Linked DNA regions of Homo sapiens: all the other regions are linked to region 3. The links are contacts of gene promoters, found by promoter capture Hi-C in blood cells and fetal thymus (Javierre and others, 2016). All regions are on one chromosome and are shown on one strand. Each heading gives the region's core, a stretch centred on a gene start or on the middle of the fragment in contact. The rest is flanking DNA. Distances are from core to core; before and after follow the strand shown.

Region 1 (2,700 bases), core at 85-2,584, 510 kb after region 3:
GGAGAGATCGCTGGGGTTTAAGTCTTGGCTCTACCCTTACTAAATGAGTGACCTGGACAAATTATTTAACCTCTCTGGGACTCAGTTTCTACATCTGTGAAATGGAGACAAAAATCGTGCTTATCTCATTGCTTATTGTTAAAATTAATATATTGCCCATAAAGTGCTTAGCACAATATCTTGTCTTGTGCTGTCTGATATGGTGGCCACTAGTCACAGGTGACTATTTAAAATAACCAAAATGAACTAAAATTAAAATTGAGATTCTTCCATTGCACCAGCTGCATTTCAAGTTCTCAGTGGCTTCTAAATTGGACAGCACAGATATAGAACGTTTCCATCATCACAGATAATTCTCCTAGACAGAGCTGGTGGAGAATATTGTAAGGGCTCTGTGATGCTAGCCATTTCTCGTTACAATTACTCCTGCTGTTATTGTCGCTGTCTCTCAACTCAAGGTGGAGGGTGATACTAGGTCACTACAGCAGGAGATTTGCCCTTGTGGCAGCCCAGGCTGAAAGTCCATACCCTGCATTTGCTTTCTTCTTAGAATGCTGTCCTGCCGATCTTCACTTGCTGACATCCTCCTTGTGCCAATGCCTGGTAGGACAGGCTTTAAGAAGCTTTTCAGAGGGAGAGCCCAACATAAGAGCCTTCTTCTCCATGAGTCTAGCCTCCCTTTGAGAGCTGGAACTGGATTTCCTTCATCCCTGCCTCCCCAGTGCCTGGCACTGGGTAAGCACTCAGAATAAATTTGTTGGGGAATGAAGGAGCTGTGTCTGAAAGTTTGCATGGGTCTAAGACAGTGTGTTCACTCAGCTCCATGACTGCATCAAAGCATTTCTAATACCAGATGACTTACAGTGTGGAAGAAAGAGCAGCTAGGAAACAGGTCTGTATCCGTGGCCAGGAGGCATGAGCCTCAGAAATGTTGGCAGGATGAGCAGCCTTAGAGAATGATGGCAGCGCCCCGGGGAAATGACAGGAAGCACAAGTTGAGTGGCCCAGGGAAGGCGAATGGGCATCAGAGAATTAAGAAGAACTGTCTTGTGCATGGGAGACTCTCCAAGACCTCTTGGATCGGAAAGGAAGAGCTGAGGTTTCAGTATATCTTGGCAGGGGTGGGCAAGCCACAGACCTCCCTTAGTTTCTGTTATGTGTCCCCGCTGCACTGATAGGGCCTGAGGAAATGAAAGTTAACCAGTAACAAATATTTTTGGGTCTGTCACTTTAAAGAGTCTTCAGTTGGCTTCCCTTATCATTGGAGATTATTTCTTTTGTGAGTGTGTTTTCTTTGCATATTCTTTGCATATGTATTGTTTCAAGGAGAAATGGTAGCTTCCTGGGTGTTGACATCTGAGGCAAAGTTTTAGATTTAACTTGAGGTCATCTTAGTCGACTCAGGCTGCCATAATAAAATACCACGGACTGGGGTCTTAAACAGCAGACATTTATTATCTCGCTGTTCTGGAGGCTCGGAGGTCCAAGATCAAGGTGTCAGCAGATTTGGCTCCTGGTGAGAGCTCTCTTCCTGGCTTGTGGATGGCTGCCTTCTTGCTGTGTCCTCACCTGGTGGAGTGAGAGATTTTTTGTCTCTTTCTCTTCTTCTAAGGGCACCAATCCCATCACTGAGACTGTAGCCTCAGGACCTCCTCTAAACCTAATTACTCCCCACAGGCCTCACCTCCTAATATCATCATGTTGGAGGTTAGGGCTTCAGCAGATAAATTTGGGGGGCACAGGGTTCATACTGTTGATGAAAAAAGCCAAACTCTGAAATACTTGAAGAAGTTTATTCTGAGCCAAGTGTGAGGACCATGGCCCGTGACACAGCCTCAGAAGGTCCTGAGAACATGTGCCCAAGATGTTTGGGTTATACTTTGACTTTATACATTTTAGGGAGACAGAAGCTACAGGGAAAACATAAATCAATACGTGTGAGTTATATGTTAGCTTGGCCAAGAAAGGCAGGTCATCTTGAAGTGGGTGCTTTCAGGTCACAGGCGGATTCAAAGATTTCCTGATTGGCAATTGGTTGAAAGTGTTAAGCTTTGCCTAAAGAGTTTGAGTCAGCAGAAGAAATGCTTGGGGTTAAGATAACGGGGGTTGTGGAGGCCAGGTTTCTTCTTATGTAGACGAAGCCTCCAGGTAGCAGACTTCAGAGAGAACAGATGGTAAATGTCTTTTATCAGACCTTAAAAGCTGTCAGACTTTTAGTTAAATCTCTCCTGGATCAGGAAAAGACTTAGAAAGGGAAGAAGATTCTCTGCAGAATGTAAATTTTCCCCACAACGGGTGGCTTTGCAGGGTCATTTCAAAATATGTCCAAGAAATATATTTGGAGGTAAAATACTTTCATTTCCTTTAGGGACTGTTATCTGTCACGTGATGTTATATCAGAGTCTCAGGCTTCCCCGACCCACTTCTCTTTGACACCGGCAGAAATCTAATATCTGTATCAGGGTCCACATAGACCAATGGCATCCAGCCCTGATGTCAGGCCATCTTTAGCCTCCACTGATCACCTGCCCACATTCTGCACATCAGCCTCACTCAACTTTCTGTTTTTCTTGCAGCCCAGGCTGTTTGGCACCTCTGGGACTTTGCACGTGCTCTTTCCACTTCCTGGTTCATTCTCCCCCTGCCTTGGCATCTGACTGAATCTTCCTCCTTTGTCAGGCCTCAGCTTAGATGTCACTG
Region 2 (2,700 bases), core at 150-2,649, 580 kb before region 3:
ACAAAATTATCTGGGCCCTTTAATTTTCAGAAAGTAACACCACTGGCCCCTTGCCACTGGGAGCACCATCAGTGGGAGTCAACTCACCAAGCGAGAAGCCCAGGAGAGCTTCATACTGCATGCTAATCTATTCCATTTTGCAACCAGTTTTTTATGTGCTGTTATAAAAGAAGTTATTGCCACTGGGCAAAATGAACAAGGTTTCCCTCAAAAATGAAATCTAAGTATTTGCTAAACAGCAAATAACTCAATTATGCTATTAAAAAAAGAAAATTACATGATAAAGTGGTAGCCCTGAATATCTTAAAGAGTACTTGATAAGAAGGTTTTTCCAAGTACCAGATACCATTGTCTCATTTGATCCTCAAAATAACCTGAGTATAAAAGCTGGTGTCAGAGAGGTGTAGTACTTTGTCCAAGATAACAATACCTGGCATGGCCAACTTGGAACAGAACTTCACTGCTCTAATTCCAAGTCCCAGCCTAAACGACAAAAACCTGTTACGTTTTCAAGAAGCTTCCTTCTGGTCCCGGAGTATAATGACAATATTCAGAGGATACAACGAATGTTCATTCTGTTTGTCTTTTCACTTCAACACAGTGCTCCCCCTTGTTCTCACAAATGGTAGGTTCAACTGAATCAGGATAACAGGTGGCTTATTATTTTCTTAAATGTGCTTACCTCTTCTAAGCACTTTAATTTGGGGAAACAATTTCTCTGTTTAACTTAAGCCTCTCTTGCTATATTTTTCTATATCATATTTCCTGATGTGCAGGACTATTTTACCCCCTTTGCTCTCTTGAAAATGCTAAATTTTAAAATTAGAAATAGAAATGTACTTCTTAAGAAGCAGTCTTCAGGCCGGGCGTGGTGGCTCACACCTGTAATGCCAGCACTTTGGGAGGCCAAGGCGGGTGGATCACTCAAGGGCAGGAGTTCAAGACCAGCCTGGCCAGCATGGTGAAACCTCGTCTCTACTAAATATACAAAAATTAGCCGGCATGTTGGCACATGCCTGTAATCCCAGCTATTCGGCAGGCATGAGAATCTCTTGAACCCAGGGTCAGAGGTTGCAGTGAGCTGAGATTGTACCACTGCACTCCAGCCTGGGTGAGAGAGCAACATTCTGTCTCAAAAAAAAAAAAAAAAATTAAAAATTAAAAAAATAGAAATAGTCTTCCTAAAATAGGTCGTCTATGTCTGTATTACCAAATGTTTGGGTTTTAAAATCTCCTTTTCAGATTCTGCTGGGTTAGAATAAGCAAAAATATTTTCCTTTCATTAACAAAGTGCTGAAATTTTGCAGTGTAGGAAATATTAACGACAACTTGGACAAAAAGAGATTTTGATAATATAACCAGTCACTATTTCCATAACCTCTAAAGTAAACCAAATGTCAGCAGTTAAGTGTGCACTAGTCATTATGTCAACTTTACTAATATATTTGGCTCTGACTACACACAGCAGGCGGTACTCTTCATTGTGTGCACTGCTCCACGCTGTACTGGTTATTTTTTCCACACACAATTCCATGGACCAAACCACATGACCAAGCTACAAATTCACAGTATCTAATGGTCGGATGGAAAATTAGCTTCCTATAGGAATGTAGGCAAAAGTACAGTTTATGAAAATAACAGAGGCCAGCTGGGTGTGTGGTTCAGGCCTGTAATCCCAGCACTTTGGGAGGCTGAGGTGGGTGGATTGCTTGAGCTCAGGAGTTCGAGACCAACCTGGGCAACATGGTGAAACCCCATCTCTACAAAAAATACAAGAATTAGCCAGGTGTGGTAGCATATGCCTACAGTCTCAGTTCTTGGGAGGCTGAGGTGGGAGGATTGCTTGAGCCTGGCGAGGTCAAGGCTGCGGTGAGCCATGATCACACCACTGCACTCCAGCTTGGATGACAGAGTGAGACCCTGTCTCAAAGAAAAAAGAAAAAGAAAATAACAGAAGCCCAAGCAATGGGCCCACAGAATTTTACATAATTCAAGAAAAGAAAGGTCCCTGAAGTCATGCTAGCTACGTATCATAAAGAAGCCATGTGGTAAAAAAAATTATTCCTAATGATACAAATTGAGGATAACTAGTACTGAACATCAAACGACTATTATCTTTAGAGAAGAAAAACCCGCCATGGTAACTAGAAATAACTGTATAAGTTACAGGGTAGGAATTGGCATCTATTAAGAGACTTCTCTGCCTGTTTTACTCACTTATTATTTTTTTAAAGTTCATAAATGAAAATAATTTTCCACTTGAGTTATTTGCTCATCTTAGTGAAGCTTCTGATTTTATTACTGCTTCTTACAGTTGAGGTTTAACTATCTAACGACAAGAGCTGGAAAAGTTCAGCTTCAGGAGCAGTTGTTATTAATTAGGATCAAGGCAAATCCAAAAAGCCCAGTGAGTTTCATGGGTATACCTCAACACAAGTAGTAATCCCTCCTCTGTAAGCTGCTTGATGGCAACATGGCCTCAATTGCTCATCTCTAGGGTCCCCTAAATCCCCAAAGGATTGTTTTAAAATCTTCTTGTTGTAGTTTTTAAGACCTGCACAGTGTTAACATTTTAAAGCCCCAAGAAAAATGCCCAAAGCAAATTCCTCCTACCCAAGAGAACAGAGCTCTAAATTGCAACAAGGAAAGGAGTGTAGCATAAGGCCAGGAAATTGAAAATACAGGGTATGGCTTAAAGGA
Region 3 (2,700 bases), core at 2-2,501:
GGGAAGTAATCCTAATCAAAAGACATGCTTTCAAGAATAAGGCATGACATCCTTACACCAATTACCCTGAGTACAGAATAATATTTCTTAAGGAAATCGAATTGTCGTGGACAAACAGTTTACCCTCTTCAGAGGACAAAAGAAGGCAGGTCTATTTTTAGCCTTTCGCAAAACCTCAGTTCCATAAAGGAAGCACTGGTCTCCACAAATCCATTATCACAAACAAAATATAACGGTTGCTGATCAAGATAAATGCAAGCTGCATATATTTTCCAGAAAAGTTCTGAAATGAGGCTGAACCTGAAATCCTGGGAAAGGCAGGTGAAGGACAATTAGAGAAGGTGTCCCTTGTAGTGCACAAAGACAGTAAAACTTCGCCCTCACTACGCCTCACCTATGTTTGAGGGAGCTCCATGCGCTTGCAATCAGGAGACCCAGTTTTATGGCTCTGTGACTTTTTTTCTTTCTCCTGTCCGATCATAATCCTGATTCCGATCCCAGGAATCAGGGCCCTGGGAACTTTTTTTTTTTCCCCCAAATGCAAAGGATTTTGACATCAGTATGTCACAGGTGAAGGCATTAAGGCGCGGCGAGCAGCAATGACTTGCCCAAACTCACAGCCCATGGCATAACTAGAATGCAAATCCACGTCTGTCAGCCTGTAAAAGTCCTCACTACTAGCCTTTCAGTTTTCTCAAAAGCAAAGAGAAATAACGACGACATCCATACAGCAGTGTTCCCGGAAACTTGGAAGGATGAGATTCGGACCAAGCAGCTGAACGGTGCTTCCTAAAGCGAGGAAGGGGTGTGCAAAATGATTTCCCCCTAAGCGGAGACGAAGAGCTGGATTACAGCCCCCGCCCCAGAAAGCCCCTAAGCCCTCCATCCCGAGTCCCCCATCCAGGCTGCACGCGACTCTGCAGACCTCCCCGTGGCCAGCGCGGCCCAGCGGGGAGGGGAAGGGGGCCATGCAAAAATGGGGCGCGCTCACTCCATCCCCACTCACCTGTCAGCCGGGCCGCGCCACGGCGCACGCGCAGGGCCGGAGGTCGCGCGCGGAGCCGGCACCCAGTTTCCACCCCTCCCTCAAGGCGGCGGTCCTCTTCTATCCGCAGTCCCGGACCTGGAGCGGGTCAGACCCCGACTTCCGCCCCTGACTCCCCAGGCGGTCACATGACCGAAGCGGCTGGGAGCAGGGAGGGGCATCATGTGACCACTCGCCGGCGACGGCTGATGACGCAAGAGCCCGCTCTCACTTTTCAGCGGCAGGCGAAGGGGGCTGAGGAAAGGAGGTGGGTCTAGGCAGGGGAAATTGGGGTGCCACCAGACGGAGACAGCTTGGACTACCAGGTAGGGAAGAAGCGGGGGACGGCAATGGGGAGGGTGGCAGGAGTTTCGCCACCCTCAGGGACACTCCACGGGGACTCCGAGCCGGGGGTCCGTCTACCCGGATTATGGTTGTGGAACTTTTCACGCCACGGTAGTGAGTCTGGGACAGTTTACCCTCCTGTCCGAGACGCCATCTCTCCATCCTTTCGCCTCAAGTGTGTAGGGGCAAGATTACGAATTTTTGATCCAAATAGATTTTGTTTGAACTGACTTTAAAAGTAAGGCCACGGGAAGGTCGTTTGAATAAACTCTCTGGACCTCAATTTCCTCTTCAGTTATGTAGATTGCAGTGAGAATTAGCGATAAGGAGAATAAAGTGCCGGGACACCAGTTTATGGCATTCTGTAGGTGACCGAGAAATGATGATGTCTGTTGTTATTTTTGTAACTGGCCAAATCTTTATTGGTCCCCTATTTTGTGTGAGGAATTGCTTTATATGCAATAGAATATGTCAGGGTTCTAGTTTAAGGAGGTGTCAGTTTAAAGAAGCTGCAGACATGTGAGCAAATAGTTGTGATGAGTTTCATAATAGGAGTGTGTTGTGTACATGTGCATGTGATAGGGATAATGGTAGCATGAGGGAGGGAAAAGCAATTGTATGAGAAGGATTCAGAGAGAAGGGATTATCCTTGCATGTTGAAAAAGGAGAGGCAGCTCTGGCTGACTTGTACAAGGCTCCCATGGATTTAAAGGAAGTCAACATATTGTCTATAAATAACATGCAGAGAAAAAACTCAGGAAATGCACAACTTGTTCTAAACTTTCTTGGAGATCATAGGTACCGGGAAGAAAAAGATCAGTGTTATTACCTGGGGAGGGATCCAAGAGAGATTGATTTAAACCAGTTATTCTCAACTGATGCACTATTGACATTTTAGGCCAGATAATTTTTTGCTGTGGGGTCAGGGTGAGGGCTGTCCTGTGTTTTGTAGGATGCTTAAGAGCATCCCTGGCCTCTGCCCGCTAGATGCCAACCACAAAGTCTACAGATACTGCTAAATGTCCCCTTGCGAGAGGGGTAAAATCCTTCTTGGTTGAGAACCACTTAAACCAAGCCATGAAAGATGGTATCTTAGTCAATGTGGGCTTCTGTAACGGAAATGCCATAAACTAGGTAGCTTATGAACAACAGAAATTTATTTCTCACAGTTCCGGGGCCTGTTTCCTGGTTCATAGGTGGCTTCTTGCTGTGTCCTCACATGGTGGAATGGCAAAGCAGCTATCTGGAGCATCTTTTAAAAGGGCACTAATCTTATTCATGAAAGTGGGCCTCATCACCTCCCAAGAGGCCCCACCTCCTAATACCATCAC
Region 4 (2,700 bases), core at 123-2,622, 550 kb after region 3:
GCCCCAAGAGGGTATCATGAAGGAAGAACCTGAGGCATCATCCAGTCACTTTTCATCTTTAAAAGGAGCAAATTGAGACCAAGAAAGGAACTTACTTCAAGTCACAAAGTTAGTGATGGCATATTTGAAGCTGTATCCCTCCTGACTCCTAGTTCAGTACCCCTTCTCCTCACTCTCCCTTTCATCTTTCTTTCTTCTTCTTCTTCCTCCTTCCCTTCTCCTCCTCCCCCACCTTCCTTCCTCCTCCTCCTCTTCTCTCTCATTTATTCACTCAGCAAACATTAATTGGGCGCTTAATAGATCTTGAGCATATTCCTCTTTGTGGGATATAAATATGGATAGCTAACATTTTCTTTTCATGTTATTGCCTGGATTAATTGACACCTCCAATGTACTTCATAATTACAACTAAGATGCATTGAGTGTGACTGTGTGCCAGGCACCATGCTAAGGCTTTATCTCAGTTACCCTCACAGATGAGGACACTAAGGCTTAGGGAGGTCTAGGAACATGCCCAGTATGGCTCAATTAGTTGTAAAGCTGGGATTAAAACCCAGATCCTTCTGACTCCAGGGCCAGAGATCTTAACTGTTATGTTATATTTACTCTTTAAAGTATCTAAGGTTAATTCAAGAAGTATCCATACTCTAAAAGAATTTTGCTCCTATTTAAAATAACGACTTTTTTTTTTTTTTTTTTTTTTTTTTTTTTTTTTGAGACAGAGTCTTGCTCTGTCGCCCAGGCTGGAGTGCAGTGGATCTTGGCTCAACCTCTGCCTCCTGGGTTCAAGCGATTCTCCTGCCTCAGCCTCCCGAGTAGCTGGGATTATAGCATGTGCCACCACACCTGGCTAATTTTTGTATTTTTAGTAGAGACAGGGTTTCACCATGTTGCCCAGGCTGCTCTTGAACTCCCGACCTCCGGTGATCCTCCCACCTCAGCCTCCCAAGTGCTGGGATTACAGGCGTGAGCCACTGTGCCCGGCCTAAAATAACTACTTATTTCTTGTCTTAGAGTGGTGCTGATTCTCTTGTCCAATTAATTGCTTCTTAAATCCCTAGGAGTTTATGTTAAGGTTTATCTAGGTACCAGGCACTGTGCTACGTGCCAGGGACACTGCCAGTGACTATAGGTCAGTTAGGAGTCCATGGCCTTGCAGGTGTCAGTTGTGATACAAGGCAAGCCACAGAACACACCCTGATGGAAGCACCGTACAACTCCAGGGAGCCCAGTCACAATACAGCTGGTGGAAATGGCACCTCCTGACTTGTGCAGTGCACTGACTGTGCGACTGTATATGGTGTACCTGATCAAATAGGATGGGAGCATGGGTCAGGGGCAAGGAGGCAAGGGATAAGAACAAACTCTTCTGCCTCTGCAGGGCAGGGAGGCTTTACAGCAAAGGGCACTGGAGTGTGAATGCTGCCAAAGCTGTAAAAACCTTAATTTCCTGTTCTCTTCACCTGGGAGATAGTTGTCAAGGTTTGAGGAAATACGTCTCTGTGTTTTGACCTGCAAGGCAGGAAATGTATTTGTTTCCATTTCTTGCATTAGCTACTAAGTTGCATTTCTTTTACATTCCCAGGTATCTTACTCTCATTCTCATTTTTGGGTAGATGGGTAGTTTCTCTTTCTAGTGTAGTTGGTTCATGAAATTAGAGCTTAACAACTGTAGGAGGGTGTCCAAAACCAGAAGATCAAGCGTGGGCAACCTTGCAGCCATTTAGGGAATTCTCTGCCAGAACCAGAGGGAAATTGACGGCAGCCCAGAGAGGGGAGCGCCCATCTCGTGACCATCTCTGCCATTGAAGATGGCACCATGTGGAGGTGTTTCCTCAGTACATGCTCAGCTCTCTTGGTTCTTCCTAAATATCCTCATTAACCAAGAAGACTGCTTTTGCATGTGTGAAAATTTTACCTTCTTTAACTTACAGCAGAAAACAAAAGGGATTGTTTTCATTTCCCAAATATAAAATTATCGTATAATGACTATTACCATTCCCCATAACGCAGCCTGAAGATGGTAATTCAGACCTTTCTGGGCAGGGTGTGGTACTGAGTGACAATCTCAGGATTGGATTGTGTCAGTCACTAGAAGGATGCCGAGGGCACAAAGATGTAAAGAGCAAAACCAACACCAGCAACAATAATGAGAAAACAGCAATGAGAGACCTCTTCCAGGCCTCCAGGAGCTCCAGGCCCCTTCGTTGCTGCCTTTGCAACCACAGACTGCCCTTTTGAGACAACCACTGTGGGAAAGGATGTGGGGATGGAGAAGTACCCTGTCACCAGTTGGATGGCAAGGTGCTCTGCCCCTTCATGTCAGAGCAGGGGAAACCTTGGCCAGCAAGGTGGAGGGAGGAGAGATGGGGCAGATCATTCTCTCTTCTGGTCTGCCCTAGGAGAAAGATGCTGATCAGCCTTTTGATTTCTTTTTTCTTTCTTTCTTTCTTTCTTTCTTTCTTTCTTTCTTTCTTTCTTTCTTTCTTTCTTTCTTTCTTTCTTTCTTTCTTCTTTCTCTCTCTCTCTCTCTCTTTCTTTTCTTTTTTTCTTTCTTTCTTTCTTTTTTTTTTTTTTGAGACCGAGTCTCGCTGTCTCCCAAGCTGGAGTGCAGTGGCGCGATCTCGACTCACTGCAAGCTCTGCCTCCCGGGTTCACGCCATTCTCCTGCCTCAGCCTCCTGAGTAGCTGGGACTACAG
Region 5 (2,700 bases), core at 133-2,632, 530 kb after region 3:
GGGTGTTATTAGTTTGTCAGTGGCAAAGGGGCACTAGACCTAAGTTCTTTGGCTTTTTCTGTGACAACTGGTGACCTTTCCTATGTTAGATCCTCTCCTAACATCTGACGGTAATGGAAATCTTTCTAGGTAGAGAGTTTCTAAACAGCCCAGGTAAGTCATTTAACTTTTGGTACCTCATTCTTTTTTTTTTTTAAATCAGCAGAAGGGAGACAAAGGACTTAATTTCTGAGGTTAAGGTAAGAATTATAAGTGAATGATGTATATAAAGCTTTAGAACTGTGGATGACACCTAGTAAGTGGTCATTAAATGTTAGTTATTATTATCATTATTACTACTATTCTGGAATACAGGAGGATTTCAGCAAGTAGTTAACCATGAGAACTCTAAGGGTAGGCACACTTAGTTATTTCTGCATCTTCTGCACATGCCAGTTTGTGAGCTGGTAGCTTTCAATAGATGCCTTTCAGATGACTTGAGTGGTTCAATAAATCAGTATGAGAGAAATATCCCTTTTCTCTAGGAAGCTCAATGCACTGGTTTCGCTTATTCTTGAGGTTCTAGACACAAGATCCTGGCCTGGGTGGGAAGACCCCCATGCTATTGGGCCAACTCTCTAACTTCATGTGTATCCTCTGTGAGTTCCTCTCGGGTAAAGAACATTTGACCCCTGTTTAGAAAGATTGCCTTTCACAATCTCCCAGTTCTCTAGATGGGACTTGCTGAGCTGACAGAATGTACAGAGAAGAACTAACTATTTTTAGGGTGAACTAGAAAGATTAGAACTTTGTTCTCTTCTCAAATAGCAAACCTCCAACCTGTGAAAATCCAGAGAGGAGTTATTGAAGAGTCGGAGGTAGGGAGGTGTTTGTTGCACTCTTTATTATTATTATTATTGTTTTTTGAGGTGGAGTCTCGCTCTGTCACCCAGGCTGGAGTGCAGTGACACGATCTCGGCTCACTGCAAGCTCCATCTCCTGGATCCACGCCATTCTCCTGCCTCGGCCTCCCCAGTAGCTGGGACTACAGGCGCCCGCCACCACGCCCGTCTCATTTTTTGATTTTTAGTAGAGACAGGGTTTCACCATGTTAGCCAGGATGGTGTCGATCTCCTGACCTCGTGATCCGCCTGCCTCGGCCTTCCAAAGTGCTGGGACTACAGGCGTCAGCCACTGCGTTCAGCCTATTATTATTTTTTTGAGACGGAGTCCCACTCTGTTGCCCGGGCTGGAGTGCAGTGGCACGACCTTGGCTCACTGAAACCTCCACTGTCCTGGGTTCAAGAGATTCTCCTGCCTTAGCCAACTGAGTAGCTGGGATTACAGGCACCTGCCACTGCACCCAGGTAATTTTTGTATTTTTAGTAGAGACAGGGTTTCACCATGTTGGCCAGGCTGGTCTTGAACTCCGGACCTCGTGATCCATCCTTCTTGGCCTCCCAAAGTGCTGGGATTACAGGCATGAGCCACCACGCCCGGCCTGTTGCACTCTTACTGCTTAAAATTCTCGCATAAAAATAATAACAGATTCCTGGTGATGGAGTGTCTTCTCTGTGTCAGGCCCTAGGTGCATGCTTTACACATACATTATTGTTCCATGCTTACAGCAACTTCATGAGATTGGTTTAATTCTTCTCTTTTGCAGATAAGAAAATCGAGGCATGGAAACAATGCTGTCCACAGCCACACCGAGGGGGCAAAGTAGAGCTGGAATTCCAACACTGGTCTGTCCAGCTTCAAGACCCAACCTCTCTATGAGGATGAAAACCTAATGAAACAAATCAAAACAGATGAAACAACCTCAGCCTACAGGCTAAAGAATGCGCTCACTCACTCAAGTCATAGTGAAGATGTGGAACACATCATTTTGCTGGTACAGAGGCAGATTCACAGATGAGAATGTCAGGGATTCTGTCTCAGAGGCGCTCGTGTCCTTACAAGGGAGGTGTAAGGACTACCTTGTTTTTCATCTGCCCATCTTCTTCATTTCATATTGGGATTTCCCCTTCCCAGTTCACATGCCAACTGGAAGGTTTGCGAGTCCAAATCCCAGCACTCATCTGGCAAAGGGGTGAATGTTTGACTCATATTGGAAAATTAGACTATAGGAAAGTAAATGATGACCCCCTAATCTGAAAATGGCTAGAGCGGATTAATCCAGCTAGCAGCACTCTGAAGATAGCTGCCCATTTGTTCCTGCCATCTGGCTGTTCAGCTTTCCTTCTTTCTGAGAGCTTCCTTGTGGCAGCTACTGTAGGTTGGTTCACTCAGCGCCCATTCCATTTCCCGTCAAGCCGTGCTTTCTCTGCTCTAGAACGTGGAAGACTCAAAGCTCGCTTTCCCAGACTTCCTTGCAGCTAGGAGTGGCCATGATACTTGACCAGCGAGATGCAAGTGTAAGTCTGCTGGGGCTGTCTATCCCCTTTCTCCTTCTTCCTACTGGAATGTGGACCTGATGGTTGTAGCTGTGGCATATACCTTATGAGCATGAGGGAAAGCTTAAGAGAATTGCGGGCACCAGCCTGACACTGCTTAGTGACGTCAGGCAGGCACAAACTTCCCTTTGGGCTCCTTGCTGAAGAACTCCATAGTGGTTTCTGTTACTTGTGGCCAAATTTACCTCTTCACTGATACATGATCTGCACATTTTCTTTGCACTTTTATAAACAGGGTGTATGCTTGAGGTAGGCAGAGTTTCTG

Evidence for each region. Contacts are between HindIII fragments. The CHiCAGO score rates a contact against its expected background, and 5 or more counts as called.
Region 1: a fragment that was not itself captured here is called in contact with the fragment with the promoter of NSMCE2 in region 3 in 4 of 17 cell types (neutrophils, naive B cells, M1 macrophages and 1 more); the score reaches 12.1 in neutrophils.
Region 2: a contact is called between a fragment that was not itself captured here and the fragment with the promoter of NSMCE2 in region 3, in 4 of 17 cell types (naive B cells, erythroblasts, total B cells and 1 more). The highest score is 6.6, in naive B cells.
Region 4: a fragment that was not itself captured here is called in contact with the fragment with the promoter of NSMCE2 in region 3 in 12 of 17 cell types (neutrophils, monocytes, M0 macrophages and 9 more); the score reaches 27.5 in neutrophils.
Region 5: a fragment that was not itself captured here is called in contact with the fragment with the promoter of NSMCE2 in region 3 in 7 of 17 cell types (neutrophils, total B cells, M0 macrophages and 4 more); the score reaches 13.2 in neutrophils.

The regions. Positions count from the first base shown.
Region 1 is chr8:125,603,741-125,606,440 of GRCh38, forward strand. All of the region lies in intron 2 of LINC02964 (long intergenic non-protein coding RNA 2964), which reads left to right. Among named protein-coding and RNA genes, the nearest start is that of LINC02964, 85 kb to the left of the region's middle. RefSeq lists enhancers at 1,306-1,485, 2,358-2,407. The HindIII fragment of the contact is 1,426 bases long and covers 622-2,047 here.
Region 2 is chr8:124,508,897-124,511,596 of GRCh38, forward strand. The region is part of intron 6 of TATDN1 (TatD DNase domain containing 1); the gene reads right to left. Among named protein-coding and RNA genes, the nearest start is that of MIR6844, 1.7 kb to the left of the region's middle. The HindIII fragment of the contact is 1,769 bases long and covers 516-2,284 here.
Region 3 is chr8:125,090,609-125,093,308 of GRCh38, forward strand. NSMCE2 (NSE2 SUMO ligase component of SMC5/6 complex) reads left to right here and starts at 1,252. Exons shown (of 8, transcript NM_173685.4): 1 at 1,252-1,350. It overlaps WASHC5 (WASH complex subunit 5), which reads right to left and starts at 1,184. Exons shown (of 29, transcript NM_014846.4): 1 at 1,007-1,184. RefSeq lists a silencer at 904-1,073 and an enhancer at 1,124-1,343. The HindIII fragment of the contact is 6,790 bases long and covers 1-2,700 here.
Region 4 is chr8:125,644,788-125,647,487 of GRCh38, forward strand. All of the region lies in intron 5 of LINC02964 (long intergenic non-protein coding RNA 2964), which reads left to right. Among named protein-coding and RNA genes, the nearest start is that of LINC02964, 130 kb to the left of the region's middle. The HindIII fragment of the contact is 7,706 bases long and covers 1-2,700 here.
Region 5 is chr8:125,621,179-125,623,878 of GRCh38, forward strand. It overlaps LINC02964 (long intergenic non-protein coding RNA 2964), which reads left to right. Exons shown (of 7, transcript XR_001746072.2): 5 at 1,646-2,396. Among named protein-coding and RNA genes, the nearest start is that of LINC02964, 100 kb to the left of the region's middle. The HindIII fragment of the contact is 2,227 bases long and covers 270-2,496 here.